3 separate regions of the Homo sapiens genome follow, and all the other regions are linked to region 2. The links are contacts of gene promoters, found by promoter capture Hi-C in blood cells and fetal thymus (Javierre and others, 2016). All regions are on one chromosome and are shown on one strand. Each heading gives the region's core, a stretch centred on a gene start or on the middle of the fragment in contact. The rest is flanking DNA. Distances are from core to core; before and after follow the strand shown. Region 1 overlaps APP (amyloid beta precursor protein). Region 2 holds the start of APP (amyloid beta precursor protein). Region 3 overlaps APP (amyloid beta precursor protein).

Region 1 (3,997 bases), core at 272-2,771, 130 kb after region 2:
TCCTCACCTGGAACTGCAGAATCTGATTGAACCCAGTGGTCCATGGGGGTTGCTGAATTCGTAAAGCAAATGAAATGTTAGAAGACCCTCTAATTGTTGTAGAGTCACACTTTTCCTCTTGCAGAGGAGGTACTCACATTTTTTTTAAGAAACAATCTTTAATTATCGATGTATTCTTTTAGGTTTAGGTTTGCAGACACTGGTGAGCGTGTGCTGAGAGGTAACTTGATGTATCTTTCTGGATAATTAGATGATTTTTTTTTTCTATTTCTTTGAACATTTTTTTTTTAAAGAGCTGCTTAAGATCTGGAGGAGTGATTCCTTTTGACCGTGTCTTATTTTCATTAAGACTGTATAACTTGGAAGAGTTTTTTTTTTTCTTTTTCTTTTTCTTTTTTTTTTAAGATGAAGTTTTTGCTCTTGTTGCCCAGGCTGGAGTACAGTGGTGTGATCTTGGCTCACTGCAACCTCTGCCTCCTGGGTTCAAACGATTCTCCTGACTCAGCTTCCCGAGTAATTGGGATTACAGGTGTTCACCACCACACCCAGCTAATTTTTGTATTTTTAGTAGAGACAGGGTTTCACCATGTTGGCCAGGTTAGTTAATGTTACTCTCTGGTTTGGGGGGCAGTGATATGTTTTGGCTTTTTTCCCACCCAGATCTCTTCTTGAATTCCCATGTGTTGTGGAAGGGACTCGGTGGGAGGCAATTGAATCATGGGGGCAAGTCTTTCCCATGCTGTTCCTGTGAAGTGAATAAGTCTCACGAGATCTGATGGTTTTAAAAAGAGGGGTTCCCCTGCACAAGTTCTCTCTCTTTGCCTGCTGCCATACATGTAAGACATGACTTGCTCCTCCTTGCCTTCCACCGTGATTGTGAGGCTTCCCCAGCCATGTGGAACTGTAAGTCCAGTTAAACCTCTTTCTTCTGTAAATTACCCAGTCTCAGGTATGCCTTTATCGGCAACATGCAAATGAACTAATACAGCTCGGGGTGGCTTGTGTGGGTGCGTATGGCCATGTATGCAGGTGTGCGTGCATTGGAATATACAATTCCGTATTGAACCCAGTTTAAACTTCATCAGTTCTGGTGATTGCTGGAGTGTCACATATGGCAAGACGTCACCTTGCCCTCTAACTACACCAGAAAACCAGGCCAGCACCATTGACTATCTAGATACAGTGGGCCGTTTATATTATTATTGTTTCATATTTTTAGATTATTTGGTAAACAATTTACAGAACTAAGAATAAAGGAATAGTGAGAAATAACTATTAGCAATTTTAATAAGAGTTAACATAGTAAATATTTTAATTTTACGAAGAATTTAAATATGGTAAACCCACATGTTTATTCTGTATTTTCCCAGTTTTGAAGGTATGGATTTCTGAAATGAGCATTATCCTTTGGAATGCAGCTAGCTGCTAATCACCTGCCATGCACGAACCTGAAATATATCCGTCTTACAAATACTGGTTCTACATTTCAAATACATCTCTATTAGGTTCATCATATTTCTTGGTCTTTTTTTTTTATACTTGCAATTTCATTTAATTATTGTAAAAATTTAAGATATTTAAAACATTGACAGCTCATAATTTTATTGAAGAGAGAATATAGCCATCTTCCCTCAGGAATAAAATGTTTTCAAGTTTGGATTTGTAAACAGCTATTAAAATGATCAAGCCAGTCTTTTTTTCCCCCTTTTTTTCTGCATTATCTCTTCTAATCACCTTAGAGAGATTCCTGCCTTGGGCATTTGTCCACTTCCTAATGGTATCAAATAAATGTGTTGCACAGACATAAAATGTGTTGCATAAGCATCATAAAATGGCAAGGAATACTGTCACATCATTTTAGCAATGATGGTTAATGTTTTTGTCACATAATATTGAGTGATGATATCCTTCCTGTTGAATGACTAAGTGGATGAGAATACCATATTTCCTTTTTATTCTTAGAAATACATTGCTCAGCCGGGCGCAGTAGCTCACGCCTGTAATCCCAGCACTTTGGGAGGCCGAGGTGGGCCGATCGCCTGAGGTTGGGAGTTCGAGACCAGCCTGACCAACATGGAGAAAGCCCATCCCTACTAAAAATACAAAATTAGCTAGGCGTGGTGGCGCATGCCTGTAATCCCAGCTACTCGGGAGGCTGAGGCAGGAGAATCAATTGAACCAGGGAGGCAGAGGTTGCAGTGAGCCAAGATTGCACCATCACACTCCAGCCTGGGCAATAAGAGCGAAACTCCACCTCAAAAAAGAAAGAAAGAAAGAAAGAAATACATTGCTCACTTGTCAATTCTTGAGCTTGAGAAAATTCATCTAGGATATCATGTGAAGGCTCATAGCCTAAGGTTTTACTTACGTGATCAATTTCATTCTTCTTCTGGTTTATCTAATTGGTAAAATGCCTCCTTCTGTCAGTTGTTCCTATTTGCCAATATGTGGAAGATGATTTTTGACTATATTCAGTGAGTCTCCAGACTTCTTTTTATCATGCTTTTTAAAGAGATGGGACCTCACTCTGTTGCCCAGACTTGAGCGCAGTGGCTATTCACTGGTGTGAGTATGGTGCATTACAGCTGCAAACTCCTGGGCTCAAGTGATCCTCATGCCTCAACATCCCAAGTAGCTGGGACTATGCAGACTTTTTTTAAACCATCTTGAAAGATGATGCAGTACTTTGGGAACACAGCAATAAAAATGTGATAATTTCCCTATTGCATCACCTTTCTAGGCAATTATATCATTCTTTCATGCTCATATTATTTTGTCTTCTTTAGCACAGTTTTTAAATAGTTGATGGCTAATGATGAAATAATTCTTCGGATGATAAATATTTTGTAACATAGGAACACAATATAGGAAAAAGATCGAGGTTCATACCATATCTCAGACTCATGGTTAAGTACAAGCTAGAATGAGTTTTAGTCGATTAAATTTCTTTTTCTCTATGAATGGATAAAGTGAGAATATCAGCCCACAAGTAGTTAGAAGTGCTCAGAACTCAAAGGTAAAATTGTGTCCAAGACCTGATGGTATTCTAAAGGTTAACAGCCTATCCTACTTACCAAGAATTTACATTTATTATGAGGCCTGTACAACCTGATGCAGGAAAATACTTGGCATAATTTTCTATAAGTTAGGTAGTTAGGTGCTCAACAAGTATTTGAGTTGAATCACATTGGCATTCACATCAAACACATACACCTACGTCATCATGTTAACTTAAGGTTAATAGTGTCACCAAAACTAACTGGTCTTTAAAAAAGAAAAACTAGGCCAGGCATGGTGGCTCATGCCTGTAATCCCAGCACTTTGGGAGGCCGAGGCTGGCAGATCTCTTGATGTCAGGAGTTCAAGACCAGCCTGGCCAACATGGAAAAACCCCCTCTCTACTAAAAATACAAAATAGCCAGGCATGGTGGCATGTGCCTGTAATCCCAGCTACTGGGGAGACTGCCAGAGAATCGCTTGAACCCAGGAGGTGGAGGTTGCAGTGAGCTGAGATCGCACCACTGCACTTCAGCCTGGGCAACAGAGCAAGACTCTGTCTCAAAAAAAAAAGAAAAGAAAAGAAAAGAAAAACTAAGGAATATCATTCTAGACATGCAGTAATTAAGTAAAATTGCATCAGGAGTCTAATAACATAGCATGATGGGTCCCATGTTTCATTATTTCCATGGGCAGAAGAGGGATGGCTACATTATAAATAAAGGAAAATTGTAAGAATAAGAAAAGATGAAGTATGAAATATTTCCAACTCAAAAACAAACTGTATCTGAGCATGCAGAGGTACAAAATGTCACCTTTTTCCTCCAGTGTAATGAAGGGCACTAAACCTCTTGAGCATTTGATATGTTCCAGATACTATATTAAAGTGATTTTTTTTTTTAGGAGACAGGTTCTTGCTGTCACACATGCTGGAGTGCAGTATTGCAACCATAGATCAGTGTAACCTTGAACTCCTGGGCTCAAGTGATCCTCCTGCCTC
Region 2 (4,088 bases), core at 1,209-3,708:
ACTCTCTTTTTTTTTTTTTGAGACGGAGTCTCGCTCTGTCGCCCAGGCTGGAGTGCAGTGGCGCGATCTCGGCTCACTTCAAGCTCAGCCTCCCGGGTTCACGCCATTCTCCTGCCTCAGCCTCCCCAGTAGCTGGGACTACAGGCGCCCGCCACGACGCCCGGCTAATTTTTTGTATTTTTAGTAGAGACGGGGTTTCACCGTGTTAGCCAGGATGGTGTTGATCTCCTGACCTCGTGATCCGCCCGCCTCAGCCTCCCAAAGAAAAGTCCCTCACTCTTAAAGTTGCCTCCTCCTTCCCAGGGCTGGCTTCATGGGCATGCAACCCTGGAGAGTCTCACAGGCCCTGCGGTGGGAGGAGCCCCATGCTTGGTTTAACGCTCTGCCATTGCCATCTTAAAATTCTTAATTTAATTTTTTTTCTTTTTTTTGAGGTGGAGTCTCGCTCTGTCGCCCAGGCTGGAGTGCAATGGCACAATCTTGGCTCACTGCAACCTCCGCCTCCCAGGTTCAAGCGATTCTCCTGCCTCAGCCTCTGGAGTAGCTGGGATTACAGGCAGGAGTAACCACGCTCGGCTAATTTTTGCATTTTTAGTAGAGATGGGGGTTTCACCATGTTGGCCAGGCTGGTCTAGAACTCCTGACCTCAGGTGATCTGCCCACCTGGGCCTCCTAAAGTGCTGGGATTACAGGCATGAGCCACCAGGCCCGGCCTTAAAATTCTTAATAATGTAACAAAGGGTCTCACGTTTGCATTTTGCAGTGGACTCTGCAAGATTTGTAGCTTTGGACCACGTTTCTCTTTGCATTCAGATACCTTCTTTTTTGCCTTATTTGCTCATGCAGACCCGGAACAAATACGGAATTGCGGTGGGTAAATGTGGTGCAGAAAGTGAACAACTGGGTTTGTCCTGTCACTTTAGGCTTTTCCCTGCTGTCCCAGCTTCATGTCACTTACTTGCTATTAGATTTGGGAGTTCATTAGCTTCATTTTCCTGATGTATAAATAGGAATAATAGTAACAGCCTCTTTGGCTTTTGTAGGAAGTAAATGACATGAAGCGTATAAACAAATACTGCATGACAATAAATATTTGTCCTTATTTGTTGAGGACATCCAAAGGACATTCAGGGGCAAAAGTAATCCAAGAGTCAAGACTGAATGCCTAGTGCGGGAAAAGACACACAAGACAACATTTAGGGGAGCTGGTACAGAAATGACTTCCCAGGAAGGAAGTCTGTACCCCGCTGGCTGAGCCATCCTTCCCGGGCCTAGGCACCCTTGTCAGCGCAATGAGCAAGGGAGAGAAGGCAGGCTGCAGTGCAGCCCTCAGAAGGGCCAGAGCACTCCCTGGCTTCAGTCCTTCGCTCCAAGCCCTGTGTGGAGTGGGCTGTGGCTTGGTAACTAAATGCTACTTCAGGTCAAGAGCAGGGGATATATCTGGGCAGTTCTAGAGCATTCTAAACTATCTGGACACTAACTGGACAGTGGACGGTTTGTGTTTAATCCAGGAGAAAGTGGCATGGCAGAAGGTTCATTTCTATAATTCAGGACAGACACAATGAAGAACAAGGGCAGCGTTTGAGGTCAGAAGTCCTCATTTACGGGGGTCGAATACGAATGATCTCTCCTAATTTTTCCTTCTTCCCCAACTCAGATGGATGTTACATCCCTGCTTAACAACAAAAAAAGACCCCCCGCCCCGCAAAATCCACACTGACCACCCCCTTTAACAAAACAAAACCAAAAACAAACAAAAATATAAGAAAGAAACAAAACCCAAGCCCAGAACCCTGCTTTCAAGAAGAAGTAAATGGGTTGGCCGCTTCTTTGCCAGGTCCTGCGCCTTGCTCCTTTGGTTCGTTCTAAAGATAGAAATTCCAGGTTGCTCGTGCCTGCTTTTGACGTTGGGGGTTAAAAAATGAGGTTTTGCTGTCTCAACAAGCAAAGAAAATCCTATTTCCTTTAAGCTTCACTCGTTCTCATTCTCTTCCAGAAACGCCTGCCCCACCTCTCCAAACCGAGAGAAAAAACGAAATGCGGATAAAAACGCACCCTAGCAGCAGTCCTTTATACGACACCCCCGGGAGGCCTGCGGGGTCGGATGATTCAAGCTCACGGGGACGAGCAGGAGCGCTCTCGACTTTTCTAGAGCCTCAGCGTCCTAGGACTCACCTTTCCCTGATCCTGCACCGTCCCTCTCCTGGCCCCAGACTCTCCCTCCCACTGTTCACGAAGCCCAGGTGGGCCGTCGGCCGGGGAGCGGAGGGGGCGCGTGGGGTGCAGGCGGCGCCAAGGGCGCGTGCACCTGTGGGCGCGGGGCGCGAGGGCCCCTCCCGGCGCGAGCGGGCGCAGTTCCCCGGCGGCGCCGCTAGGGGTCTCTCTCGGGTGCCGAGCGGGGTGGGCCGGATCAGCTGACTCGCCTGGCTCTGAGCCCCGCCGCCGCGCTCGGGCTCCGTCAGTTTCCTCGGCAGCGGTAGGCGAGAGCACGCGGAGGAGCGTGCGCGGGGGCCCCGGGAGACGGCGGCGGTGGCGGCGCGGGCAGAGCAAGGACGCGGCGGATCCCACTCGCACAGCAGCGCACTCGGTGCCCCGCGCAGGGTCGCGATGCTGCCCGGTTTGGCACTGCTCCTGCTGGCCGCCTGGACGGCTCGGGCGCTGGAGGTGGGTGCCGCGCCTCGGAAGGCGGGGGGAGGCTGCACGGTGGGGACGCGATACCCCCCAAGACCTTAACCCAAGTCTTTAATGCAGAGAAGCCGGGGGTCCGTCAATGGGACCCCTCTCCTCTCCGCCCCCGCTTGCGGACGTCCAGCGCATCCCCGCTTTCGGCCCAGCCCTGCCCCAGGGAGTCGCGCTCCGGCCCGCTGAGAGGGAGCGGGCGAGGCGCTGGTCTCCCTGGTTCCGCGCCAGCCCGGGGCGAGAAGGGTAGGGGGCGACCCTGAGCCCAGACCCCGACTTAGTCCCTGCCTTGGAAGCGGGGGTCGGGGGAGGCGAGAGACATTCAGACAGGGGGGAAGGGGGAAGGAGCACGTGGGGAAAACCGAAAACGCAGCGTCCCTAAAGCCAGTCCTTCGCTCTTGAATCGTTGCCCTTTCCTTTCTCTTGGGCCCTGGGGAGGAGGAGGAGGAGTCGGGACAGCCCAGGAAGCTAGGAGCCCCTCGCTTTTCCCTGCGTTCTCCGCCTCGTTTCACCTTCCTCTCTCACCCCCATCCCCCTTCCTTGCTCCAACCTCTTTTCGCGGCTGCTGGCGGCGGCAGCCTGGGTGCGACCCTAGCCCGAGCCGGCGTCGGGGTCGCGCACCGCCTTCCACAGGCAAACTTTGTGCATGTCCGCGTCTCCCTTTTGTGTAACTTGCGAGAAATGGGAGGGGTCGGAGACCCATAGCCACCCCGCGCCTTCCCCAAGTCTGGACGTCCCGGGAGTTCGCTCGCACCCTAAGCTCTGTCTGAGAGGCAGAAGGTCCGCGGGAACAAAAGCCGCGACACCCCGCCCTCGCCGTGGGCCGAGCCGCGTTAGTCTCAGTGCGCCACCGAGGCTCCCGCCCGGCTCCCTTCCCGGGGCTGCGCGTCCGCCTGGGAGGGGGCAGAGACGCTGCCGGGGCTTCTGGCGGAGCCTCGGGGCCCCTCTGCTTCCCACCCTCGGATCACCTCCGAGGCTTAATTCTGTGCTGGGCTGTAAAGTCCTTGGCGGGGAGGAAATAAGGCGGAGAGTGGGATGTGCGTCTGGAAAGGGCAGTGGCGGATGGTGGGGAGGCACGGGCTCTGTCCTGTGCATCCAAGGAGGCGTTTGTCTGATTAAGGCGCGGCCTCTTCCCTGGCAGCTCTGGGGACTCTGGTTTAGTTCCCCTGGGGGCACAGGATGCTGGGGAGGGTCCGAAGGGTCTTTTTTTTAGGGTGCAGATAAAAGGATCGAATTGAGTGAAGATTAAGACGGAGAAGATGGCGCCTCTGCAGTGCAGCAAAGAAAAGCTGTGTGGAGGCTGCAGCCTAGTGAAATCCACCCACCACTAGGTGTATAACAAGTCTTCCCCATTCATCCAACTCTCGAACATTCAGCTAACGCCTGTGCACAATGACTGTTTTTCTTTA
Region 3 (3,813 bases), core at 1,256-3,755, 110 kb after region 2:
GCAAGCCCCCAGTAAAACCCTATGAGACATACGGTTCACTAGCTCTGGGCCTCTTCTGGCTCTTGAACCTGGTGCCATCCACATTGCAGTCAGTAGGAGTTTGGCATGACACCTTATTATGTGAACTTTTATATCAAGCCATTAAATTTTTTTAAAATAGACTTTATATTTTACAACAGTTTTAAATTTACAGGAAAATTGAGAGGATAGTCCAGAGAGTTCCCATAGGCTTTGCATCCAGTTTTCCCTATTGTTAACATCTTATATTAATATGGTACATTTGTTGCAGTCAGTAAACCAATTTTGATACATGGTTATTAACTAAAGTCTATACTTTATTCAGATGTCCTTAGTTTTTGTCTAATGTCCTTTCTGTGTTCCAGGATGCCATCCAGGAAGGCGCATTATATTTAATTGTCAGGTCTCCATAGCCTCCTTTCCTCTTGGCTATGACAGTTTCTTTATACTTCTCTAGTTTTTTAATAACCTTAAAGGTTTTGTATTGGTCAGATAATTTGTAGGATTCCCCTCTGTGGGAATTTTCTCATGCTTTGCCTGGGGTTATTGGTTTTAAGAAGGAAGACCACAGAGGTAAAATGCCCATTTCATCACATCATATCAAGGGTACGTGTTTATCAACATGATACAGCCCTGTTGGCATTGACCTTGATCACCTGGCTCAGGTGGTGGTTGTTGAGTTTCTCCACTTGAAAATTACTCTTCTTCCCACTTTATGTGCTCTACTCTTTGGAAGGAAGTCAGTTTGCACAGCCCACAATTAAGGAGCAGAGAATTATGCTTCATTTTCTTGAGGGCAGAGTATCTACATAAATTATTTGGAATTCTTCTGCGCAGGAGATTTGTCTCTTTTTTCCTATTTATGTATTCATTCATTCAGTCATTTAGACTCATGGATATTTACATTGTACTTTGATTTCTAATCCAGCACTACTTCATAATTTTTATTGCTCAAATTATTCCGGCTTTAGCTATTAGAAGCCCTTTCACTTGGTTCCTATGCTCATTTGACATAGCCTCTTTTTTTTTTTTCTTACAAGATGCTGCAGTCTCATCTTGCATATTTTCAGCCCTAATCCTAGAATCAGCTGTTCCTCCAAGGAGCCCTTGTTCCTTTTATTGGAGAGTAATGTTATTGGAGAATAGTATTAAAATCTGGATGTTAAGGATGCTCGTTGCCACTGGAGTTTCTTTGCTTTTAAGACTTCTCAGTTGATAGAGCAAGGCAATGTATTTGTCCATGTTCACCCTTATGTTATGCAGATCTATAAATATTTCTATAGCTAACTAGTTGTATTTATATTAAGCTATAATATCTAGTCTATATTAAGCTAAATACAAGTTCATCCGGATGTTTCCTACTCTAACGTATTACCACATGGACACTATATCTCTCCTCCTTGGTTATGTATAAATTCTCACTCCATCCACCATCTATGTACTTAATTGTTCAGTTTCAGTATATGTGCGTAGCCGTATCAGAATTGTTAACCCAGGCTGGGTACAGTGGCTCATGCCTGTAATCCCAATACTTTGGGAGGCTGAGGCAGGTGGATTGCTTGAGCCCAGGAATTTGAGACCAGCCTGGGCAACATGGCATAACCCCATGTCTACTAAAAATACAAAAAAATTGCTGGTCATGGTAGCATGTGCCTGTAGTCCCAGCTACCCGAGAAGCTGAGGTGGGAGGATCACCTGAGCCCAGGAAGTCAAGGCTGCAGTGAGCTGTGATCGTGCCATTGCACTCCAGCCTGGGAGACAGAGTAAGACTCTTTCTTAAAAAAATAAAAAATAAAAAATATAAAAAAATTTGTTAACCCACACCTATATGGATCTTTTTAAAAGCTGCAAGACTGCTAACAAATATTTATTTATTTATTTATTTATTTATTTATTTGAGACAGAGTCTCCCTCTGTCACCCAGGCTGGAGTGCAATGACACAATCTCAGCCCACTGCAACCTCTGCTTCCCCGGCTCAGGCGATTCTCCTGCCCCAGCCTCCCGAGTAGCTAAGATTACAGGCACCCGCCACCATGCCCAGCTAATTTTGTATTTTTAGTAGAGACGGGGTTTCACCATGTTAGCCAGGCTGGTCTCGAACTCCTGACCTCAGGTGATCCACTTGCCTCGGCCTCCCAAATTGCTGGGATTATAGGTGTGAGCCACCATGCCTGGCCATAAATACTTATTTTGTTCCCGTGGTTTTTTTTTTCTTTTCTCTTTTTTAAAGTAAATCCTTTGCACTATTTTTATTATTTTAAGACCAGTGTTATTCAGAGCCTGGGTTAAACACTATTCTGTGTGTGTGTGTGTGTGTGTGTGTGTGTTTGTTTGTTTGTTTGTTTTTTGAGACAGAGTCTCGCTCTGTCACCCATGCTGGAGTGCAGTGGTGTGATCTTGGCTCACTGCAACCTCCGCCTCCCTGGTTCGGGAGATTCTTCGGCCTCAGCCTCCCGAGTAGCTGGGACTATAGGTGCGCGCCAACATGCTCAGCTAATTTTTGTATTTTTAGTAGAGACGGAGTGTCACCATATTGGCCAGGCTGGTTTCAAACTCCTGACCTTGTGATCCACCTCGGCCTCCCAAAGTGCTGGGATTACAGGCATGAGCCACCACTCCCGGCCAGCACTATTCTGTCTTATACTCACTCTGCCATCTGTGTGTGTATATGGTACGTATGTGAGGCTGGATCTGTGCACTTGGAAAAGTTGGAGAGATGATTTAGGTAAAACTTTTAGTTTTCACTTCTTTTGCCTTTTTGCTTATCTTGATCCATTTAGTTCCTACCATCTGGCAAATAGTTCTCATCTGAAGAATCCCATCTGTCAGTTCTCACTATTATCCGGTAATAGTTACAGTGAAATGCTGGTGACGGCAACAGCCACTTTTTAAAAGGATGTGTAATTCACCCTCATGTCCTCTTTGAGAACCCAGTAACTGCCCACACTCTGAAGCTAAAACCATAACAGTTTTATCACATGGAAAGTTTGTTGAGAAATGTTTGGCTGTTTCTGTGAAGTAATCGTCCCGTCTCTTGAGTACAGATGCCTCCCAGGAAAATTTTCCCAGCCTATTTGTTAATGTGAAAGTTACAAAAGATAGCATATAATGAGCACATTCAAGACAAAAAAATTTGTGGAGTAAGAGTCTGAAATGGTAAAATAAAAAATCACTTAAGAAAACATTTATCTGTAGCTGTCATTTTCATATACACATATCTAGTGTATACAAGTTAGTAAGTACATAATTCTCAAAAGTTCTACCTGTCTACACATCTACACAGAAAAATTAGGAAAGTCTTGTCCAGACTTTTCCATCATCTTCAGTATAAAGCATCTTCTAGCTGTTGGAATAGAAACAAGCTAGATTCTTGACTCCTTTCTATTTGATTATTTAGATCTGACCTTCAGACGACATCCAGAATCTGAGAACACGCACCACCTCTACTGCTCTCATCCTGGTCCAAGTCATTGTCATCTCCCACCTGGATTAATGCCAGAGCCCCCTTCCTGGTCTTCTCACTTCTAGTCTTGACCCCCTAGGGCAAGAATAATTAGCTTAGAAAACCACCCCAGAGCCTTCCAGCATTACTCTGAGTACTGGCCAGAGTTGGACAATGTTTAAGGCCCCGTGCAGTCAGCTGTCCCTGTCCTGTCCTGGCTGTCACTCACTCGCTTGCCCACTGATCTCTTCCACATCATTCCTCCACGACAGCACTGATCTCCTTGTTCTTCTGTGAGTTCACCAGGCATGCATCTGCCTCAAGACTTTGTGTAATACTTGTTGCTTCCTCT

What was found. The method cuts DNA at HindIII sites, captures the fragments that hold promoters and counts their contacts. A CHiCAGO score of 5 or more calls a contact.
Region 1: a contact is called between a fragment that was not itself captured here and the fragment with the promoter of APP in region 2, in 1 of 17 cell types (megakaryocytes). The highest score is 8.4, in megakaryocytes.
Region 3: a fragment that was not itself captured here is called in contact with the fragment with the promoter of APP in region 2 in 1 of 17 cell types (non-activated CD4 T cells); the score reaches 5.5 in non-activated CD4 T cells.

What each region holds. Positions count from the first base shown.
Region 1 is chr21:26,042,817-26,046,813 of GRCh38, reverse strand. The region is part of intron 5 of APP (amyloid beta precursor protein); the gene reads left to right. Among named protein-coding and RNA genes, the nearest start is that of APP, 130 kb to the left of the region's middle. The HindIII fragment of the contact is 6,437 bases long and covers 1-3,997 here.
Region 2 is chr21:26,169,140-26,173,227 of GRCh38, reverse strand. It overlaps APP (amyloid beta precursor protein), which reads left to right and starts at 2,458. Exons shown (of 18, transcript NM_000484.4): 1 at 2,458-2,664. The coding sequence starts at 2,608. APP-DT (APP divergent transcript) reads right to left here and starts at 2,361. Exons shown (of 4, transcript NR_186396.1): 1 at 2,176-2,361. RefSeq lists silencers at 2,106-2,935, 3,436-3,705 and enhancers at 2,723-3,247, 3,746-3,955. The HindIII fragment of the contact is 2,642 bases long and covers 1,973-4,088 here.
Region 3 is chr21:26,060,764-26,064,576 of GRCh38, reverse strand. All of the region lies in intron 3 of APP (amyloid beta precursor protein), which reads left to right. Among named protein-coding and RNA genes, the nearest start is that of APP, 110 kb to the left of the region's middle. The HindIII fragment of the contact is 7,631 bases long and covers 1-3,813 here.